6 separate regions of the Homo sapiens genome follow, and regions 1, 2, 3, 5 and 6 are each linked to region 4. The links are contacts of gene promoters, found by promoter capture Hi-C in blood cells and fetal thymus (Javierre and others, 2016). All regions are on one chromosome and are shown on one strand. The core of a region is centred on a gene start or on the middle of the fragment in contact, and the rest is flanking DNA. Distances in the headings are between cores, read along the strand shown. Region 1 overlaps CASR (calcium sensing receptor). Region 2 overlaps CASR (calcium sensing receptor). Region 3 has its middle 14 kb from the start of CSTA. Region 4 holds the start of FBXO40 (F-box protein 40). Region 5 overlaps CD86 (CD86 molecule). Region 6 overlaps CASR (calcium sensing receptor).

Evidence for each region. Contacts are between HindIII fragments. The CHiCAGO score rates a contact against its expected background, and 5 or more counts as called.
Region 1: a fragment that was not itself captured here is called in contact with the fragment with the promoter of FBXO40 in region 4 in 1 of 17 cell types (erythroblasts); the score reaches 5.9 in erythroblasts.
Region 2: a contact is called between a fragment that was not itself captured here and the fragment with the promoter of FBXO40 in region 4, in 1 of 17 cell types (total B cells). The highest score is 5.4, in total B cells.
Region 3: a contact is called between a fragment that was not itself captured here and the fragment with the promoter of FBXO40 in region 4, in 4 of 17 cell types (erythroblasts, naive CD8 T cells, total CD4 T cells and 1 more). The highest score is 7.2, in erythroblasts.
Region 5: a contact is called between a fragment that was not itself captured here and the fragment with the promoter of FBXO40 in region 4, in 1 of 17 cell types (erythroblasts). The highest score is 5.1, in erythroblasts.
Region 6: a fragment that was not itself captured here is called in contact with the fragment with the promoter of FBXO40 in region 4 in 1 of 17 cell types (erythroblasts); the score reaches 5.5 in erythroblasts.

What each region holds. Positions count from the first base shown.
Region 1 is chr3:122,288,424-122,292,242 of GRCh38, forward strand. It overlaps CASR (calcium sensing receptor), which reads left to right. Exons shown (of 7, transcript NM_000388.4): 7 at 1-3,206. Among named protein-coding and RNA genes, the nearest start is that of CSTA, 35 kb to the right of the region's middle. The HindIII fragment of the contact is 3,949 bases long and covers 1-3,428 here.
Region 2 is chr3:122,263,120-122,266,648 of GRCh38, forward strand. The region is part of intron 4 of CASR (calcium sensing receptor); the gene reads left to right. Among named protein-coding and RNA genes, the nearest start is that of CSTA, 60 kb to the right of the region's middle. RefSeq lists a silencer at 1,968-2,069. The HindIII fragment of the contact is 259 bases long and covers 2,090-2,348 here.
Region 3 is chr3:122,309,860-122,313,400 of GRCh38, forward strand. No RefSeq gene overlaps it. Among named protein-coding and RNA genes, the nearest start is that of CSTA, 14 kb to the right of the region's middle. The HindIII fragment of the contact is 3,199 bases long and covers 395-3,541 here.
Region 4 is chr3:121,591,770-121,595,231 of GRCh38, forward strand. It overlaps FBXO40 (F-box protein 40), which reads left to right and starts at 1,610. Exons shown (of 4, transcript NM_016298.4): 1 at 1,610-1,733. RefSeq lists enhancers at 967-2,166, 980-1,630, 1,631-2,282 and a silencer at 1,553-1,847. The HindIII fragment of the contact is 3,467 bases long and covers 1-3,056 here.
Region 5 is chr3:122,120,972-122,124,770 of GRCh38, forward strand. CD86 (CD86 molecule) reads left to right here. Exons shown (of 7, transcript NM_175862.5): 7 at 1-165. Among named protein-coding and RNA genes, the nearest start is that of CASR, 61 kb to the right of the region's middle. The HindIII fragment of the contact is 3,590 bases long and covers 520-3,799 here.
Region 6 is chr3:122,246,134-122,249,802 of GRCh38, forward strand. The region is part of intron 1 of CASR (calcium sensing receptor); the gene reads left to right. Among named protein-coding and RNA genes, the nearest start is that of CASR, 64 kb to the left of the region's middle. The HindIII fragment of the contact is 3,946 bases long and covers 1-3,669 here.

The sequences.
Region 1 (3,819 bases), core at 204-2,703, 700 kb after region 4:
TTATAGTAATTTGTTTCAGCAGCAACAGAAAACAAATACATTTGTATTGTTATCTCCTTCCCTGAGTTTTGGCAGCCAGAGCCTGTCTCAGAGATCTATTCCTGTTCTCACTGTGGTCCTCTTCCCTTCACCTAGCTCACTCCTTCCCCTCTAATATTCTATTCCTCTACATCTGCTTGGGAAAGTATAAACCTCATATTCTAAGTCTTTGCTGGCTTTGGTTATAGAAAATACACAGCCGTGTTGTCTCATTCTATTATCTGTCAGTAGCAGAAACCTGAAATTGGTAGCTTCAACAAACTAGTGTTTGCTTTTCTCTTGAATAAAGGAAGTCAGGAGGTAAATATATGATCACCTTTTAATTACTTTTTAAAATATTTCTTAGGTTTTGTTAACAATGGGAAACTGCTTACATTTCTTTTGAAAATTAAAATGAATTATAAAGTTAAAAAGATTTTCACTCAAATGAAAGTGTCCTAGAAGATTTTAAGAATTTAGGTTGGAAATTTAGAGGTGACGATCAGCATATAACATCAATACCCTGAAAGTCCCTATGATCGTCACACGTTGTCTAATTGCATTAATTTTGATTTTGGGGAAGTTGGGGCTACCCTACCTCTGTCTCCAAAAGGCACATTTCAAGGCAATGTTGTCTGTCGTTTTGCTCTGGCTGAAATCACATAGCTACGGGCTGGTTCTGCCCAGCCAGAGCTTCCCTTTGCTCATCTGCTGCATTTGAAATAATTATTGCTACAAGAATAATGGAACATCAATAAGGGGTGCTAATCACCGGAGGAGGTGGCCCTCATTTGTCTGAGCCTGAGTGGTCATTTTAGGAGTCCACTGGAGACAAGAATACTCCCAAAGGTGGGTGGAATTAGGGTAGGTGGGAGGAAGTTGCCACAGTGAGATCACAGCCTCTGGGAGATGCTGGTTTTCCTGGCCCAGATCATGGAAAAAAAACATCAAGACTTGGATGACAACTTTGAGTGACTTTGCTATTATGCAAGGAGTGAGGCAGGGGTCAGGGAAACAACAAGCACAGGGTAGAACCTGTCACAGGAATAAAGGTGCATTCCAAGGATCCAAAGAAGAACCTTAGCCTTGAGAGGAAAAGCTCAGCAAGTGGTATGAGAAATGGAGAACTGCTAGGTGAAGGCCAACAGGGCAGGAAGCCGGGCAGAGCCAGCATGAAGGTGCCTCTGGGAACTGGAGGGACAACTGTGACTCTAGCACCGAGTGGGGCTAGGGGAACCTTCTCCTCTGTTGGGAATAACCACCACATTCATCCCCTCCCCTGACCCCTGGACAAGAGTGGAGGACACTTGGAGTGGAGACAAGCAGGGGTACCTGTTTAAATCAACAGCTGAGGCCAGATGCAGAGGCTCATGCCTGCAATCCCAGCACTTTGGGAGGCTGAGGTGGGAGGATCACTTGAGCCCTAAGAGTTGAAGACCAGCCTGGGCAACATGGCAAAACCCCATCTCTACAAACAATAAAAAAAAAAAACAGCTGGACATGGTGGCATGCGCCTGTAGTGGCAGATAACTCAGGAGGCTGAGGTGGGGGGATCTGCTTGAGCCCAGGAGGTGAAGGCTGCATTGAGCTGTGATTGCACCACTGCACTCCAGCCTGGGTGACAGAGCAAGACCCTGCCAAAAAAAAAAAAAAAGAAGAAGAAAAACAATTTTATTGGTAGAGGCGGGGGGAATAATAGAGATACAGCACCAGCTCCCTGCCTCTAAAATGTGGGCACCTGGGTAACTAGATAGCGCAGGAAGTTAGAACAAATAAAAGCAGCAAACTCTGTGACTGAAGTTTCAGCACATGGATGGCAAATATTTTCAAGTTTGGTGAAAATAGGTAAGAGATCAAAGCCCAAGAATAAACCCTGGGGTCATTACAGGATTTCCTGTAAAGGCATCAGGAAATGTTTTTGGAAGAATGTGATTGTCTTCGTTGATATCAACCCAAAGATGTGGTTATTGTTCAGAATGTCCTGATTTTCTTTAAATGTTTTGTTTCTATCTGACCTCTCATTATAAATGAGAAACTTATAAATTATAAATATACACTCATTATAAATGAAGATTGCTTGGTAATGGACTAATGGATAATTGTTTCTGCTTCTTTAGGATGTTCTAAATTTTTCCCAAGTTTTGTACATTAAGCACAAAATTATAACAGGAAAATAAAGAAAAGAATTTAAAATAAACATGCAACCAAATTTTAAACAGATAAGTATATCATATTAGATAGGAATCACCATACTGGGTCAGTCACCCCTCCTCCAAATTTTTCTTTATTCTTTTTTTTTTATTATACTTTAAGTTTTAGGGTACATGTGCACAACGTGCAGGTTTGTTACATATGTATACATGTGCCATGTTGGTGTGCTGTACCCATTAACTCGTCATTTACCATTAGGTATATCTCCTAATGCTATCCCTCCCCCCTCCCCCCACCCCACAATAGGCCCTGGTGTGTGATGTTCCCCTTCCTGTGTCCATGTGATCTCATTGTTCGATTCCCACCTATGAGTGAGAATACGTGGTGTTTGGTTTTTTGTCCTTGTATTAGTTTGCTGAGAATGATGGTTTCCAGCTTCATCCATGTCCCTACAAAGGACACGAACTCCTCATTTTTTATGGCTGCATAGTATTCCATGGTGTATATGTGCCACATTTTCTTAATCCAGTCTATCGTTGTTGGACATTTGGGTTGGTTCCAAGTCTTTGCTATTGTGAATAGTGCCACAATAAACATATGTGTGCATGTGTCTTTATAGCAGCATGATTTCTAATCCTTTGGGTATATACCCAGTAATGGGATGGCTGGGTCAAATGGTATTTCTAGTTCTAGATCCCTGAGGAATCGCCACACTGACTTCCACAATGGTTGAACTAGTTTACAGTCCCACCAACAGTGTAAAAGTGTTCCTATTTCTCCACATCCTCTCCAGCACCTGTTGTTTCCTGACTTTTTAATGATCGCCATTCTAACTGGTGTGAGATGGTATCTCATTGTGGTTTTGATTTGCATTTCTCTGATGGCCAGTGATGATGAGCATTATAAATGAAGATTGCTTGGTAGTGGACTAATGGATAATTGTTTCTGCTTCTTTAGGATTTTCTAAATTTTTCCCAAGTTTTGTATATTAAGCACAAAATTATAACAGGAAAATAAAGAAAAGAATTTAAAATAAACATGCAACCAAATTTTAAACAGATAAGCATATCATATTAGATAGGAATCACCATATTGGGTCAGTCACCCCTCCTACAAATTTTTCCAGAGCTCTAATTAGCTCCCAAGAGTTTCATGGGACTTTTAAATTTCTGAACGGGCCGAGGACATAGAATAGTGGAAAAGAGGGGGATTCTAGGCAGTATGACAGATAAGTTACACGTCTTTGGATGAGGCACTTAAGCTTTCTTTGTCTCACTTTCCACTATGAAAAGTACATAGGCCAGGCATGGTAGCTCATGCCTGTAATCCCAGCACTTTAGGAGGCCAAGGCAGGAGGATCATTTGAGGTCAGGAGTGTGAGACAAGCCTGGGCAACATGGTGAAACTTCATCTGTACAAAAAATACAAAAAATTAGCTGGGCATGATGGCATGCACCTGTAATCCCAGCTACTTGGGAGGCTGAGGTGGAAGGCTCCCTTGGGTCCAGGAGGCAGAGGTTGCAATGAAGCAAGATGTAGCCACTGCACTCCAGCCTGGGCAACAGAGCCAGACTTTGTCTCAAAAAAAGAAAAGTAGATAGACTATTACCTGCCATAATTACCAACTATGGTTGTTTGCCAAATAAAACA
Region 2 (3,529 bases), core at 969-3,468, 670 kb after region 4:
TTCGGGTCTTGCATATGTGCCTTATTTTTTTCAATCAGACCATGTTTCACACTCCTTTTGTATTTTCCTTAGTTCCAAACTGACCTATCAGAGAGATTGCATGACAGTGGAGAGGGCGGGAATTCCTGAATTTGAATGGAATGTGCCAGCCTCCAGCTCCCCCATTTCCTAGCTGTGTGATCTTAGGCAAACCATGGCTGTAAGTCACAGTGTCTCCATCTGTGACACAGACTTAATGTCTAGCTTACTTTCCACTCAATGTTCTTTTGACTTAGGTTCATGACATTAAATGACATGATATATGTAAAAGCAATTTGTAAACTTTCAAGCTCTAAACAGATGTGTGATTATTATAGTAGGATTTCAGTACAGCTCTAATTAATCCATGAATTAGGTAAAAATGATAACTAGAACACCTTTGTATACAGAACCCAACCACCACAAACCCTTTGGGAAGGATACCAAGAAGCAAAAAGCACACAACTTGTATCAGTCACTGTAGAGATTCTCATGAAAGACAAGGAGTGACTGTCTAAGTTGGTCAAATAGGCCAGAATCTTCAAGTTCTCAGCCCTTCTTATATGGGAACCTCTTACCCAACCATCACTGTTGGCTAAAGTTTCTAACTTCTGTGGGGTACTCAGAGCTTCTTTCTTCACACGGAACCCCTACCTTGCCAAGATAGAGGTGCTGTAATAAAGGTCAGGCACTCTAAAGTCTTCAGGAGTGATGATGCTAAGGTATGGGGTTTTAAGTAGGAGGAGTAAGGGAGCAATCTTCTAGGTGGTTGTTACTATTGTCTTTTCTTTCTTACCTCTCACGTCCAATGCAAGGAGGACCTCAGTTCTTGAAAAAACTGCAAGACAAGAGTAGGGTTGAAGGAAAAACAGGCTTCAAGGGGGAAACTTGGCAGTTCTACTCTTCAATGGCTCCTCTTCCAGATAAGGAAATAAAATACAGATGGTCAAGACCAGACCTTGGACCTGTGAGAAAAAAAAAAAAGCCATGACAGGCTACAGTCACAACTGGGACTTTTAGTTGTGTAATAGAAAGCCCTAACCAAATTGGCATAAACAAAAAAAGAGGAAATGTAGTGAGTGGGTCATGTCACTAAAAATCTCAGAAGTGTTCCAGGTACAGCTAGGTATTTTCATCTCATCTTTCTGTTCTTCATTCCCCAGGGTTAGCAATTTTCAGCTTCTGTAGCAGCTTGAAGCTAGGATCTCCTTACTTCCCAAGATATCCTGTAAAAGTTCCAGAAACCACATTTATTGACCATTCCTAAGTCATGGATCCATCCCTGATGCTAGCAGTCCTCCAGACTACATAGACTTAGAGTAAGGGGGGAGTGAATCTCCAGTGGGAAGTCAGGATGCCATTACCAAAAGGAGGAAGAAATAGAAGCAAAGCAGCCAACATTCAAAATGTCCACTACACAGACACTTCACCCAACCATGGCCCAGGTAAAGATATGTTCTCCTGACTCTTACATGGTCTGGAAAAATCTCCCCAGGAGACAGCACAGATAGGAAAATGGGATCAGAACTCTAGGGAGGAATGACATGGGAAATTGGCCAAAATGTCCTGAGTGCTTGGTGTGAGTCTCCTTTGAGCCTCAGGAACCCAGGCTGTTGGATGGGCGTTCCAGAATTTGAGGTCTTGGCCAGGAGATGAACTAGCAATTATTCATTCTCATTATTAAGACCTATATCTTCATCAGGAAATCAACTAGCAATTATTCATTCATTCTCAATATTAAGATCTATATGGAAACTTATCACCTATAATCTAATCCAAGTCTCCAGCTGGAACTCCATGTCTGCCTTCTCTCAGTTCTTCCCCTATAAGCCAACCTGCATGACACCTCCTCACAAATCACTCATTAGTTTTTGGCACAGCATCTTTGCATAGGCCATAGCCCACACCAGAAGGGCCATCAATTTTTATCTCTGCTGTCATTTTCCACCAGGAACATTTAAATTGTTTTCAAAATCCACTTTCCCCTGGAAGTCTTTTCAAATCGTATTCCCACAACACATTTTCTGATCATTCTCGCTTCCTCATTTTTGATGTTTATATACCCAGCTTAAGCTTCCACAGCTCTTTAATTGACTGAAATAGACACTTATTAGTTAAAATTCTGGTTATAAGGGTCAATCACAATTTTTTTCCTTTCTTTCTCCCCAAAAAAATATTTATCAGTCAACTCATATGCCTCAAAAGTAGCACTAGCAGGTGATTTATGAGCATACAACTCACAATTGCCTCCTGACCTCTTCTTGGAGACCCCCAAGCCCTCCTCACATCCCTTCCCAGCTCTCTCTTCACTACTCCTTTGCTGTACTCTAAGCTTCATAAGATCCAGAACCATGCCTGTATTGTTCAGTACTATGTTCAGAATGCCTGTCGCTGGAATATTCATTGAATGAATGAATGAGTGAATAGCAGTCTAGTTGATTTGACCTGTCAACACTACCTATAGGCCTTTGCAGGGAACCGTTTGAGCCAACAACCCATTCTTGAATCAATCACTGTGGCCAAGGTATTCTAGGCTCTGTTTGGACAAGCTTTGGTCACGTGCCCACTATCAAGTTTGAGTGGAACATCATGTAAGTATGAAATCACCTTCTTTCTTCTCTCAGGATGATCATGCACAAGGTGTGCTTCCTACTCTCCTGCACCTCACACCAACACTCACTAGTCAGAAAACAGGCGTGCAGCCATGGTGAAGATGGAAGTCAGATGGAGCTGATCTTTCTAGGAATTCCTGGTACTGCTGGAAGTTGGGGAATGGGGGATAAATTGTGAGGACAGCCAGAGAAGATGGAAGGGAGATAAGAAAACATGGCTGGCGTTAGAGAAGGGAATTGGGCCTGGATCTTCCCCATGCTCTTACCACAGGAACTGGGCAAGATAATGAACTTCATTATCTTGTTCATTATCTGTGTGACCTGGCCCTCATTATCTGTATAAGAGCTGGAAGTCCTAGACCAGAGTGGGGGGGTTTCTAGTCTCTAATGTTCAGTTTAATTCAATTGACGCTACTAAGAATGTGTGCCAAGAGGTGATTTCCATTTATGCTTATAATGAGCAACCGTTTGACTTTAAAATCTTTTAGGGGAAATACCCTAAAAGACCACAAGATGGGAATATTATGGCATAAAAGAGTATGTTAGCTTCTAAGTGCATGCATGTCCTGTATTTGCCCCTCTTTTAGATCTATGTGTCTTTCTTGGTGGTGTTTTCTTTGTGAGCCTGTAAGTCTCTTTGTGTCTGTATGTTATGTTCTATGTTCAGATCTTTTTGTTTGTTTGTGTTTTGTTTTTTTGAGGCAGAGTCTTGCTCTGTCACCCAGGCTGGAATGCAGCGGCCCGATCTTGGCTCACTGCAAACTCCGCCTCCCAGGTTCAAGCAGTACTCCTATGTTTGGATCTTTCTACTAGCTTTTTTTGTTTCTCTTCCCCTTCGTTTATTCTTTTTCCTCATATTACTCCCCAAATAAAATAAATAATTTGGAAGCATATAATAT
Region 3 (3,541 bases), core at 744-3,243, 720 kb after region 4:
CGCCCCATTGCACTCCAGCCTGGGCAACAAAAGCGAAACTCCGTCTCAAAAAAAAAAAAAAAAACCTCTGATCCCCAAATGCTCAGGGAGACTGGTTTGAGTAATAATAAAATCGTGGTCTCCTACACAGCCGACTCTATGTGAATTACTCTTTCTCCATTACAATTTCCCTGTCTTGATAGGGCTCTGTCTAGACAGCGAGCATGGTGAACACATTGGGCAGCTACATTTCTACAATGCACATGTGTTATTTTTATAATTAGAGAAATATTTTTAAAACTAAAAGCATTTATTGAAGTATGATTTGTACACTATGTATATGCTGTACTTCAAAAAATGGTTTTAAAAAAACAAGAGCAGGGATCTTCAATGACGAGAATAATAAAGAAAAGAAAGCTTCCCTGAAATTATCTCAGTCTCTGGTTGGGCTTTCTTGCTCACCAAGGAAATTGTTTATACTAATTAAATTTCCTGTCTGTCCCATGGAAAATGTACTTATTGTTTTAATTCTCAGATATTAATGTGCTTAATAAAAATATTTTTCAAATCATACATATACTAATTACTGATCCAAAGAGAAGACTGTACTATGATTGTACTACCACCCCACAAATGACTACAGAACCAGGAAATAACCTTGATATGTTATATAGTTGATGAATGTCCTGGCTCACAGGTTCAGTCATGAAGAACCTGTTGTGTAAACATCTGGTCTAACTACTTGTCCTAGACTTCGTAACTGCTGACCCCACCCTCTCTCTTCAGGCTCTGCTCTGTCTCATTTATTTCAGGAGAAATCTGACAGCCTCACCTTCTCACATAGGCTTGTAGGTCAGATAAGGTAGAGGAATGGTATCAGAAGCAGGAACAGCACTGGTCTTAGGCATAACTAGTGAAAAATTTTGAATGTGATGAAGAAGAGCTCCCCTGTCATTGCCAAATCTGGGCACACAAATACGGTCACACTGTGAGGTACTGTGGGTTAGAACTTCAACATATGAATTTAGGTGGGGACACAGTTCAAACCATAACAGGCATGAAGGATCAATAGAAATCAGGCTGGCAAACGGAAGCAAAAGGAAGTGTTTCCAACCTAAGCAAAGAAGCAAGAGGAATAGGGCACCTTAGGAGAACTTGATAGGAGCCAGGTCAGAGAGGGCTGTGCTAAAGACTGAGAAGTACACTCTAAGGATAACGGAAAACTATTGAAGGACTTTCATTAAGGAAATAATACAATTGGCTTTGCTTTCTAGAAGAAATATTTGGATATTGTGTGTAGAAAGAGGAGCATGGTTGCAGGAGGAGGCCAGGGGAAGCTATTGCTGTTCTTCAGCGGTGAGATAACCATGGCCTGAGCCAGGGTAGTGCAGGCCAGATGGACAGAAGTGAGGGGAGTCGATGTAACTGACAAGCACTGGGAATTCCTGGATGAGAGAGCTGAGCATGAAAGAAGACTGGAGGATAACACCCATCTTTCTGACTTGGGAAATGAGAAGACCAAGGCATGGACTGTGAAAGGATGACAATATACAGGAGAAGGTAAAGGAGTCAGTCAGAAGTAGACCCTGTAACCAAGAGACCACCCAATATTATCCACCCAACATCTCTACTAAGTGCCACATTTTACATTATGAAAGGAAAGAAGAAAAACTACTTAGGTATCCAACCTGGCTTGGTTATAGTGATGAGACTTTTATCTCTTCTATTTCAAATATTGAAAAATTAACCCAAAAATCGAAATGCATCCTTCTATCCGGTTTTACTTTCTTCATCTCCCTTTATATTTCTAGACCCTTCACAATGCAGCTGAGGACAAAAAACGTAAGGATGGTTGCTATAGTTTATAAGGTGTCTGGAAACAAAAATATGTTTCCATTTAGGAACACTAACTACATATATACCAGACACGGAGTTAAATTTTCTACATACATTTTCCATTTAATTCTCACAACCCTGTGAGGTAGTTATTATTATCTTCATTTTACAGACAAGGAAACAGATGCTCAGAAAGGTGAAGTCACCTGCCCAGGTTTACACAGCTATGCAGATTATTGAATTCAGCTGTCCCTCACTCCAAAGGGACATGCTCAGCTCTCTCATTCAGGAATTCCCAGTGCTTGTCAGTTACACCGACTCCCCTCACTTCTGTCCATCTGGCCTGCACTACCCTGTTAACTGCTGTGGTACTCTACCTCCAGAAAGCCCTCTTTTGAAAATTGGGATGAAGTTAAAGCCATTCCACAAAAGCCTTCTTTTTTTCATACCTTTTTTTACTGAAAAATAATAAAATATTCTTAGTAAAACATCCCACGAACTTGAGCTCCATTTTAGAATACGGTATGAATAATGCTCCTGGAACTGTGCAACCCAGCAGGTCCATAACTGTGCTGGCTGGGATCAAACTACCAGGCCTCAGGCTTAATTCAGGCCATGTATAGAGACTGCCAACCAACTCACTTATACGAACAGACTTGTTAAGTTACTGATCAAACTGTCCAAGCATCTGGGCCATCCCTTGGCCAGCAATGCAGAGAAACTGGAGCCCTGTGATCATCAGGGAATATAACCTTGAACTCCTGGCTGTTCTGTTGTATTTTCTTTACTTTGGATTCTTTTTTTTTTTTTCTTTTTTTTTTTTTGACGAAGTCTCACTCTGTTGCCCAAGCTGGAGTGCAGTGGCGTGATCTCGGCTCACTACAATCTCCACCTCCCAGGTTCAAGCGATTCTCCTGCTTCAGCCTCCTGAGTAGCTGAGACTACAGGCAGGCGCCACCGTGCCCGGCTAATTTTTGTATTTTTAGTAGAGACGGGATTTCACTATGTTGGCCAGGCAGGTCTTGAACTCCTGACCTCATGATCCACCCGCCTCAGCCTCCCAAAGTGCTGGGATTACAGGCGTGAGCCACAGCGCCTGGCCTAAAACTTGACAAAGACATGTTTATCCAATGCCCTTCAAGGACTCCAGAAGTCCATGTTGGCTGGTTGCCCTCTTCTCCCAATGAGAAAGTGGTGAGATCTATGAATTTGTTCACATATTTGCTGGGCAGCTGCTGTGTTTCATAATCTGGGAGATGTGATGGCTAACAATCAAGACAACAGTTTCTGCCATGGAAGAGATTATAATCAGATCAGCAAGAAGATAAACAGAAAATATATGTGTAATAACTGAGATAACAGGAATATGTAGTACAAACCAAGAACTAGAGGAAACCACAGAAGGCTTTGGGTAGTGTGGTTTTTGAAAGCAGTATTGCATGTAGATTAATGGAGAACAGAAGGAATGACATCCTTTTCAAGGGGCATTGTATGAACAAGGAGACAGGAGCAAGAATGAGAATGAGAAAGAGGTGCAAGAGGATCTAAGAGGACCCAGCTAGAGAGAAACTCTGAGAGAGAATCTGGTTCAGGAAGACCTGTGAGTACTTGGAGGCTATTCTTAAAATTGTAAATGAATTTGATAGACGACAGGAAGTACCCAAGTTAGGAAGCAATATTTTTTCAGTGTATGAGAAAGAGCTTGGTTTTCAGGAGAAACTAGAAG
Region 4 (3,462 bases), core at 360-2,859:
CTCACCACTCTTGTTAAACATAGTGCTGGAAGTTCTAGGCAGGGAAAAACAGCAAGAAAAGGAAGTTAAAGGCATCCAAATCGCAAAGAAAGAAGTTAAAATATTTTTGTTAACAGATGGCATGGTCTTGAAAATCCTAAGGAATCCACAAGAAAACTATTAGAACTAATAAACCAGTTCAGCAAAGTTTCAAGATACAAGATCAGTGTAGAAATTTTTTACAATTTTCAACTGCTATTTGCTCATTCCAAATAAGTTTACCTCCAAGGACATATATGTATGAAGAATCCAGGGGAAAGGTTAATTCGATGGCTGTTAATCACAGCCAAATTTAGCACATCTGCTGTTAGTCAAAATACATTCAAATACATTCAAATAACAGCTGGCATTGTGGAGCACTTGGCATGTGGTACATATCATTCATGTGCCTTATGTGTACTGACACAGTTACCTGTGGTCGCACCAAGTATCATCGCCATTTCACAATGGGGAAAACTGAAATAGAAAATGGTTAAGTAAATTTGTCAAAATCACATACCTAATCCCAGCACTTTGGGAGGCTGAGGTGGGAGGATCATGAGGTCAGGATTTCGAGACCAGCGTGACAAACATGGTGAAACCCCGTCTCTGCTAAAAATACAAAAATTAGCCAGGTATGGTGGTACGTGCCTGTAATCCCAGATACTCAGGAGGCTGAGGCAGGAGAATCACTTGAAGCCAGGAGGTGGAGGTTGCAGTGAGCCGAGATCACGCCACTGCACTCTATCCTGGGCAACAGAGCGAGACTCTGTCTCAAAAAAAAAAAAAAGAAAAAGAAAACACCAAAGCCGGGATTCTATATTTTTTTCACTCACAAGATCCTGAATGAGTTTATCTGAAGATGATAAGATAAAGAACGCTAGACTGAGAGTTAAACAAGCTCTCTGGGGCTTTCCTCTGGCTCTTCCACTAACGAGATGTGTGACCTTGGATGAGCAATTTCCCTTTTCTGAATCTCTGTCTCCTCATCTGTAAAAAGAGGGAGCTGGACTAAATGACAGCTAAAGCCTCCTACAACCTCTAATTCTCTCACACTGGATTTACTCTACACCTGGTATCTGAATTACAAACTCTCCCTTTTCCAGGAAAGATGAAAGGACCAGGGGAGGACAGACACTTACTTGTCACGACAAGAGATAGGAGAAACTGAAGCAGGACACCATGTCATTTGCACAAGTTGCTGCTTCAGCCAGTGATGGGTTTAGGTGAGGAGCATGGTTATAATTAGAGCAGCAGCCAGTCCTGAAGGCTGTGCCAGCCTCCTTCAGCACAGCTGGGCCTGCCGACTGCACATGCAGGAATCTGAGAGGCTGTTCTGGCCTTGAAAATGATCCTTCTTAAAAGGATTTTCCTCCTTCCTCAAGGGAAAGAAAACCTATTGATATAAAACTTCACTTCCCATTCAGTTTCCCCTGCTAAATGCCACTCCAGTAGAGACTGAGTGTTGATAAATACAGGGGAAGGAAAAAGTCGTAAGCTGAGCCTGGTCACATTGCCCCTTGTGATATCGTTTTATTTTTAACTTCGCAACACTTGGACTATTTCTGTTGAAGTTTTCTCTCCTTTCCCTGCCTTCCCAACAGAACGCTGTCCTCTACTGCAGCTGATGCAACCCAGCCACCTCCCGGCAATCCGCTTACTTGCAATCAAGGGTTCAGGTGCAAGCAGATGCTGACTCAGCCTGTTCCATTAAGGTAAGTATTCAAACAGGAGCAGGTGCACCATGACGAGGACATTCAGTGGTGAATATGCAGATGAAGCTGAGCCGCATATCACTTTTGTGTCCTGTGGAAGAGGATTGTTAAGCAAATTAGTTATGTAAAGATGTGGGGGAAAGGCTGGCACTGAGAATGAGATCCAGCCGTGTGTAAATTTCTGTTTCCATTTCAAGAGCAGGTAGAGTACTTGCTTTCTGACAGCTTAGGTTCTTTCTTCTATAATCAACAAGAGTAGTTATGATATCTGTAAAGTTACAACATGGTGATGGGTGGGGGGATCTGGGGAAGTGGAGGAGGTGGTGAGGAAACAAGTGGAAGGCCTAGAATCCAGGATTTCTATTCCCTTTTCTTTCTTTTTTGAGACAGTCTTGCTCTGTCACCCAGGCTGGAGTGCAGTGGCACCATCTTGGCTCACTGCAGCCCCTACCTCCCAGGTTCTAGTGATTCTCCTGCCTCAGCCTTCCGAGTAGCTGAGACTACAGGCACATGCCACCACATCCGGCCAATTTTTGTATTTTTTTAGTAGAGACAGAGTTTCACCTTGATGGCTAGGCTGGTCTTGAACTCCTGGCCTCAAATGATCCGCCCACCTCAGCCTCCAAAAGCGCTGGGATTACAGGTCTGAGCCACTGTGCCTGGCCCAGAATTTCTATTATTTATTTATTTATTTAATTCATTGTTATTATTTTTTTGAGACAGAGTCTCACTCTGTTGCCCAGGCTGGAGTGCAGTGGTGCAGTCTCAGCTCACTGCAACCTCCACCTTCTAGGTTCAAGAGAGCCTCCTGCTTCAGCCTCCTGAGTAGCTGGGACTACAGGCCTGTGCCACCACGCCTGGCTAATTTTTGTATTTTTAGTAGAGATGGGGTTTCACCATGTTGGCCAGGCTGGTCTTGAACTCCTGGCCTCAAGTGATCCACCCGCTTCGGCCTCCCAAAGTGCTGAGAATACAAGCATGAGCCGCTGTGCCTGATCAGAATTTCTGTTTTCTAAAGTCTAAATGCTGTGATCTTTTCTCCAGTCAACATTTGCTATGTTTGCTTGCAAGTCATTCTCATGTAGCTTAAAATTTCGTCTGCTGTGTCATACTACTGGTTAATAAGCACAACTGTATTTTCTGTATATACTATTCAAACTCCGCAGAGTTTAACACCTTTTTTTCGCCAACAATATTCTCTAAGTGTGGCCCTCTTCTCCCCAGCTCTCTTGAGTCCAAAATGCATCCATGAAATATAAGTGAAATATTTCTCAAGTTGAAAAACTTATATAGGCTTATGCACCAAAACCAAAGATTGTTACAAGCTTGAACAATTTTGCATATTCAGAGGGATAAAAGTAAAATGACTAATGATACTTGAGGTATCAAAAGTTATAACTTTAGACAGATAGTTTCTCGCTTCTGGAATAACTGTATAGTGTTGCATGCACTAAAAATTGGCAAGGTAAGGGAGCAGTGTTTATTTTCTTGTTTTTCACTGGTTCAAAGTTCAGCTAAGGACATCCTGGGAAGTGGCCTATGCAGCAAAAGGGATTCTGTACACTCTGACCTTTGATGTGTACAGGCTAAAGCCACCGATGCCAAGTAAAAGGAGACCTAAACTAACTATTCAGATACCTTAACTCCTGGTTCCTTCCTGCCTGTCTCTGTAACCTCCATATGTACCCCAAGACTCTGCTATAGGTGTCTGGGTTATCATTATGCCTGT
Region 5 (3,799 bases), core at 1,065-3,564, 530 kb after region 4:
TTTATGTAAACCCTCAAGGGTTATAGACTGCCATGCTAGACAAGCTTGTCCATGTAATATTCCCATGTTTTTACCCTGCCCCTGCCTTGATTAGACTCCTAGCACCTGGCTAGTTTCTAACATGTTTTGTGCAGCACAGTTTTTAATAAATGCTTGTTACATTCATTTAAAAGTCTACATTTTCTGCTTTGGCTTCAAGAGTACTACTCAACCCTTGTGGTCTGATGTTCCCTGCTCTGTCCTCTGAATGTACTTCCTTTCTCTTTACATCTCTATGGCTAGAAGCCTCTCACGCATCCTGTATCTTCTCCTCCTCCCTTTTCCCTACCATTATTTGAGAAAGGAGGCTTGTATACTTCTATATGTTTATCTCAGTAATAAGTCATAAAAAATCAAGTAAGAATGGTTGTTTTTGAGGACAACTAAGAAATCTGGAATAAGGAAGGGAAGCTTACTTTTGAGTTTGTAACCTGTAGTGTGTAATTTTTTAATTATGTACTTACATGTACATTAAACAAAAGCTTAATGTAAAAATATTCCTTGAAAACACCATGATTATAAAATAAATGCATATATACACATACAGCATGTGAGAGGAGCCAGGAAAACTCTGGAAAAAAGAAAATTACCTAGACTCTGTGAGGGCAGGAATGTGTTTAATTTCTCTCCAATGGATCCTCAGACAACTAAGATAGTTGTCTATTCTATTGTCCATCTTTTTGTCTTTTGTTGTATTTCTTAAAGATTCCCTCAACTTTATCTTCTAACTTCTGTTGTATTTTTATTTCTGCTATCATGTATTCTTTTCAGAATTCTTTTTTGTTCTCTCAAAACATATCTGTTTAAAGATTGAATGAAATATTAACATGCCCTTTGGTGAGAACATCCCTCCTTTGTATATTAAATTCTCTGAACTGCTGTATTCTAAGACTAGGGGAAAGAAAAAGAAGGTTGAAAGAGGTCATTAGGCAGAATAGTACTAGCTAACATTATTTCACATTTACCATATACCCGTCACTCATCTAAACCTTTAAACTCATTATCCTATTTAATCCTCACAATGACCCTGTGACGTAGGTAATGGAATATTATGCCCATTATGCTGATGAGAAAATATAAACACAGAGATAAGTCAGAGTAATTTACCCAACATTGTTAACTTTGTAAGTGGCAGAGCTTTGTAACAGGCAGAGGTTGGAACAGTTTGGAGGGCTCAGAAGAAGACAGGAAGATGTAGGAAAGTTTGGAACTTCCCAGAGCCTTGTTGAATGGCTTTGACCAAAATGCTGATAGTAATATGGACAATGAAATACAGGCTGAGGTGGTCTCAGATAGAGAAGAGGAACTTGTTGGGAACTGGAATAAAGGTGACTCTTGCTATGTTTTAGCAAAGACACTGGTGGCATTTTGCCCCTGCCCTAGAGATTTGTGGGACTTTGAACTTGAGAGAGATGATTTAGGGTATCTGGTGGAAGAAATTTCTAAGCAGCAAAGCATTCAAGATGTAACTTTCGTGCTGTTAAAAGCATTCAGTTTTATGTATTCCCAAAAATATGGTTTGGAATTGGAACTTATGTTTAAAAGTTTGGAAAATTTGCAGCCTGACAATGTGATAGAAAAGAAAACCCATTTTCTGAGGAGAAATTCAAGCCAGCTGCAGAAATTTGCATAAGTAACAAGGAGCCAAATGTTAATTGCCAAGATAATGGGAAAATGTCTCCAGGCCATGTCAGAACTCTTTACAGCAGCCCTTCTCATCACAGGCCAAGAGGCCTAGGAGGGAAAAACGGTTTCCTGGCCAGGCCCGAGGCCTTGCTGCTTTGTGCAGTTTTGGGACTTGGTGCCCTGCATCCCAGCCATGGCTAAAAGAGGCCAAGATACAGTTCAGGTCATGGCTTCAGAGGGTGCAAGCCCCAAGGCTTGGCAGCTTCAGCACAGTGAACCTGCAGGTGCACACAAGTCAAGAATTGAGGTTTGGGAACATCCCCGTAGATTTCAGAGGATGTATGGGAACACCTGGATGTCCAGGCAGAAGTTTGCTGCAGGGGTAGAGCTCTCATGGAGAACCTCTGCAAGGGCAGTGCAGCAGGGAAATGTGGGGTTGGAGCCCCCACACAGAGTCCCCACTGGGGCACTGCCTAGTGGAGCTATGAGAAGAGGGCCACCATCATCCAGACCCCAGAATTGTAGGTCCACCAACCATGCGCCTGGAAAAGTCACCGACACTCAATGCCAACCCATGAAGGAAGTCAGGAGGGGGCTGTACCCTGCAAAGCCAAAGAGGCCAAGCTGCCCAAGGCCATGGGAGCCCACCTCTTGCATCAGCATGACCTGGATGTGAGAGATGGAGACAAAAGAGAGATCATTTTGGAGCTTTAAGATTTCACTGCCCCACTGGATTTTGGACTTGCATGGGGCCTGTAGCCCCTTTGTTTTGGCAAATTTCTCCCATTTGGAATGGGTATATTTACCCAATGCCTGTACCCCCATTGTATCTAGGAAGTTACTAACTTTCTTTTGATTTTACAGGCTCATAGGCGGAAGGTGCTTGCCTTGTCTCAGATGAGACTTTGGACTTGGGACTTTTGGGTTAATGCTGGAATGAGTTAAGACTTTGGGGGACTGTTGGAAAGGCATGATTGTATTTTGAAATGTAAGGACATGAGATTTGGGAGGAGCCAGGGGTGAAATTATATGGTTTGGCTGTGTCCCCATCCAAATCTCATCTTGAATTGTAGTTCCCATAATCTCCACGTGTTGTGGGAGGGACCCAGTGGGAGGTAATTGAATCATGTGGGCAGTTACCCCCATGCTGCTGTTCTCATGATAGTGAGTGAGTTCTCATGAGATGTGATGGTTTTATAAGAGGCTTTTCTGCCTTTTGCTTGGCATTTCTCCTTCCTATCATCCTGTGAAAGAGGATATGTTTGCTTCCCCTTCCACCATGATTTAAGTTTCCTGAGGCCTCATCAGCCCTGCTGAACTGTGAGTCAATTAAACCTCCTTCCTTTATAAATTAACCAGTCTTGGGTGTGTCTTTATTAGCAGTGTGAGAAGGAACAAATACATTAACCCAGGCTTGAAAGCAAAGAGTCATCTCTGATGACTGCATTCAACCTTTCCCTCAGCACCCACTGCTCACCCCTTCGCTCCTGCCTCATTCTGTTATCAGTCATCACTAGGCCAGGAAAGCATTCCTCCCACTTTCACACCCACCTCTTATTTTCTCATTCAGGACCTTTTTTATTCATACCAAAAACATGTCAGTCACCTCCCAACTGATCCCAGTCTCCTATCTCTCTTACCCTTCATTCTGTCCAACACACCAAGAGAAACAAGAAGGTAAATAGTGAAAAGGTCTCCCTCACATTCCCTTTCCCTAGCCACACAACTCTGATCTCCAGCTTCCTGGGTATCCATTCGTAGTCACAGTATGCCTATTTTTAAGTGTGTGTACACACACATACACATATTCCCCTTACTCAGGCAGATTTGGTTTTACTTTACACTACAGTCTAAAGAAATCAGAATACTCTTGCTAGGATGATTGACATCAGTCTTCAGTGTAATCCTTCATATTAAAAACATACATCTGTATGTATAAGTTTTCATTCTCACCAATATTCTAGCATCATTGTGGATCTTATAATAAAAGTGAGATTCCATTGGATTTTATTATGTCTACCTGTTCACTTCAGAAGAAAAGATACTTACAGATATAGAATCCTTCACTGTCCTTAGTCACAAAGTTTAAAACCTGCTCCAATCTGAACAAGTTACACCCTAGGTCTGGTGAGCA
Region 6 (3,669 bases), core at 577-3,076, 650 kb after region 4:
TCTATCTCTAAAATTCTGTATTTTAGATTAATGACCTGATGTGTCTACCCACTCAATTAATAAAGCAAGAATGACTTTTCCAGACCCTTTCCTGTTAATTACACAGAGAGTTTCAACTGGGGACAGTTCTTATTGCTCACAGCAAAAATCCAGATTTATTGGTTTGTTTTCGTGTTTATATCCCTGTTGCTGTTAATAAAAATGAAAGGTTTAATGTGTTGAGGAAATCAGGGTAAAATATGTGCAAGAATTTAAAATAATGCACACGTAATGTTAGAACACTAAAATGCATGCTTTTGGTTTCTATTTTAGCTACAGCGGAGCCACAAACTTGGCTTACAGCTTCCTAACACTCAAAGAAGGAAACAGGAGAAGAGAGAAGATTTGTAATGCCTATAAAATAATTTTGGCCAGGTTTTCCAAAGAAAACCAGAATTTCCATGTGCTTAGAAAGATGTCCCCACGATGTGCTAGAACAGGCTTCTATCGGCGCTTGAGAGCCGATGGTTAAATATTCAGATTTTTTACAAATATGTTGTTAAACCATTGGTAGCTTGAAACTGACCATGGTGGGAATATTTAGCATACACCACAAGTCAGGTCTTGTTTTTCTTTTAGAAGCCAGACTACAAGCACACCACCACATGTCCCCAGTGGTCCTCAGACAAAGACACTGTGTGAGGTCAGGAGAGTTGCAAGTGGATGGGGAAAGGCTCAGTGTACAACTTTCTATGTACAATAGAAACCCATCCCTCAGGAGTAGCGGAGAACAGAAACATATGCCTGACCAGAGAATGACTTCAAAGTTACATCAGCAGTCACCCACCCCACCTGAGTCCTTCTTTCCAATAATACCCTTTGGAATTTCATACCTGGGATTACAAAAACTGCTATGCCCATTGAGGGGCAGACATATCTCCCCATTCAAAGATACACCTAAACAAATGCGAGAATCTCAGATTACAGACTTTATGCTTTCCACTCAGTCAGCCCTTCCAAGCCCATGTTTCACGGCATCATGAAAAGTGTCCTTCAGGGAAGAAAAAAAGTGTCCCATACCAAAATAAGCAATAATCTTTATTGCAGGACTTCTCAGAGCCTTTAAGGAGGCATATGTGCTCCTGTGGCAGAGTGTACATTAGTTCCCAAACTTGTTTTACCCCAGAACACTTCCTGGTGACACATCTTGGGACATCATACTGAAAAATGCCACCCTGGGTAGTCAGGGTTCCTTATGATTTGGAGAGGCAACGCCAGGATGTTATTCCACAGAAATGTTTCTTTTATGTAGGACTTGAGGCTCTGGCATTTTTCTTTATAAAAACATGAGTTGCATATCTTCGCTTTTCAAATGAACCATTTCATTAACTCTGTTGGTGTTCATACATCCGTCAGCAGAGCTGACTTAAGGCATAAAGGAAACAGTTCAGGACAAGAAGTTTCTTAACTTCCTGTGGGCTATGTCGCCAGCAACTCACTCAGTCCTATGTGGACACAGAGTTTGTTATGTTGCCGGCAGTACACACAAGTATGCACCCACTCAACCATCATCATGGAGCCCCTCCATGTTCCAGGCCGCGGATGGGACAGACCTGGCCCTGTCTTCAAGGAGCTCAGGATGCAGCATTAATGAATGTCAGCTTCCTCTATTTACAGCCTTTCTTTGCTTTGTCTAGGCTTCTGTTTCCCCACTTTGCTCTGTGCCCTGTGCTGCTCCTCACCACTCTTGTTCATCCTTTTCCCTCCCTTCCCTGATAGCTTTTTCCAATGACTCACAAGAACCCACCCAGCTCAGCTGCTTTTCATTACGCTCCTGTCTTTGCATTTTTCCAACTCAATTAAGCCATTACCAGAACTAAATGAGGCATGGACTCCCCAAAAGTCACACCTGTTGTCAGGGAGATGGAGGGCAAGACCATGTGCAGCTGGCAGGCAGACAGCAGAAGCCGGGCTTGGGCTTGCGGGAGGCAGCCAAGGGTGACCGGGCAATTTGTGTTTCCCCCAGTGCCGAAAGAGGGCCCTCATTTTAAAACAACATGTGCCTTGCTTTGGTACAGAAGGAATGAAGTCTGATATAGAACTAGGGATGGCCGTATTGGTGATGGCAGGTAAGAGTCCCTAATTCTTTGGCAAATGTGCACCAGCTGTGTATAGAAACCCATATTGTGGATGTCTCTTCAGCAAGAGGTAAAGGAAGCTGCAACTACAGCCAGGCACGTGAGTTTGGTGATTATTGATTAAACTTTTTCAGGTTTATTTTTCCTGTTCACCCTCATTAAAACATACACATTTCACCTTTCTGCAATAGTGGCTTCAGACCCTACTGTTAGTATCTTTATGATCATTGTGACGAAAGAGAGTAAAGATTACAGTACAATAAACCAGAGACATAGCAGTGTACTCACGTTATGGAGATAAATTCTATTGGAAATCAAATTTGGTCTTATAATTCTCTTTTTTCTAGGCAACCTAGAATTTTTTTTTTTTTTTTGCCATCTAGGAATTCAAAAATAGTAGCTTTTGAGCTTGCTGTGCCTTTAATTTACTGAGTGATTTTATGTTCAGAAGGTCTGCGCCTGGGTTTTCTCTATTTGAAATGTGAGCAAAATCATTTTGCTCTAGAGATTCACAATTTCCAGAAATGTTGAGGCCAAGAGGTGAGAGTAGGGGTGGTTTTTATTTGGAAGAAAATTGAAATGTGGCAGTGTTCACTCCTGACGTTGTTTTGCTATCCTCTGTTAACTTGTTTTGACTCCGGAACTTGGATTAGCCACGTAGCTACTCTTTGGACAACAAGTTCAACAGACATTTTTAGAGCATCCATTTAGTACCAGGTTCTTTGTTTGATGCTGAGGATGCAGCTATGATCATGGAGAAGCCTCTGCCTACAGGAACCATCAGTCTCGTGGGGTGACCCCTTCCTTGTCCTGTCCAGGAATTGCCCAACCAGCCTCTGGTCTTTACTGTGTACACTTCATACATTTGTTCAACGAATATTTGTGAATCATTTGTGCCAGGTGCTGTGCTGGGTGCTAGGCAACAATGGTGAAGAAAAGAGACAGGCCTTGGCCTCATGAAGTTTCTGGTCCCCACCTTGACTTAATTCTCTTTCCCAGCAATCACCAGAGAATATCACTATTTGCTCTGTGCTCCCTCAACACTTAAACCATGCCTCTTTATAACATTTAGATCACCGTCCTTATAATGCGCCTTTCTGTCTCTTTTTAAACCTTGAGCACCTTGAAGGCAAAAATTTCAACTTTCTTTCCCTAGTGTCTTGCACTCCCTGGTATCTAGCACATAGAGAGCTCAATAAATGTTTTTTGAATGAGTAAATCATTGCACGAATTTATAACTTCATGAACCCATGGAACCCATTGACTGGTCTGCCCTCATCTCCGATCCTTGGCTGAAAAGCCTAACAAGCCATTATCTGTCCGTACTGAAACACTCCTCCTGATGTCAAGAACCTTCTAAACATAAAACCACCTGGTGCACGGATCATTTCTTCTTCCAAGATGTATCTGCCATTGAGAGAAAGAACAAATACTAGCTTCAGCTTTGTTTGTAACACTCATTTGCAGGAAGGCAAACATGATTATATATGATTTAAATGGAATAAATGTATAGTAAGGAGAACAAATGAGTTTATTTGTGATTCTTTGCTAG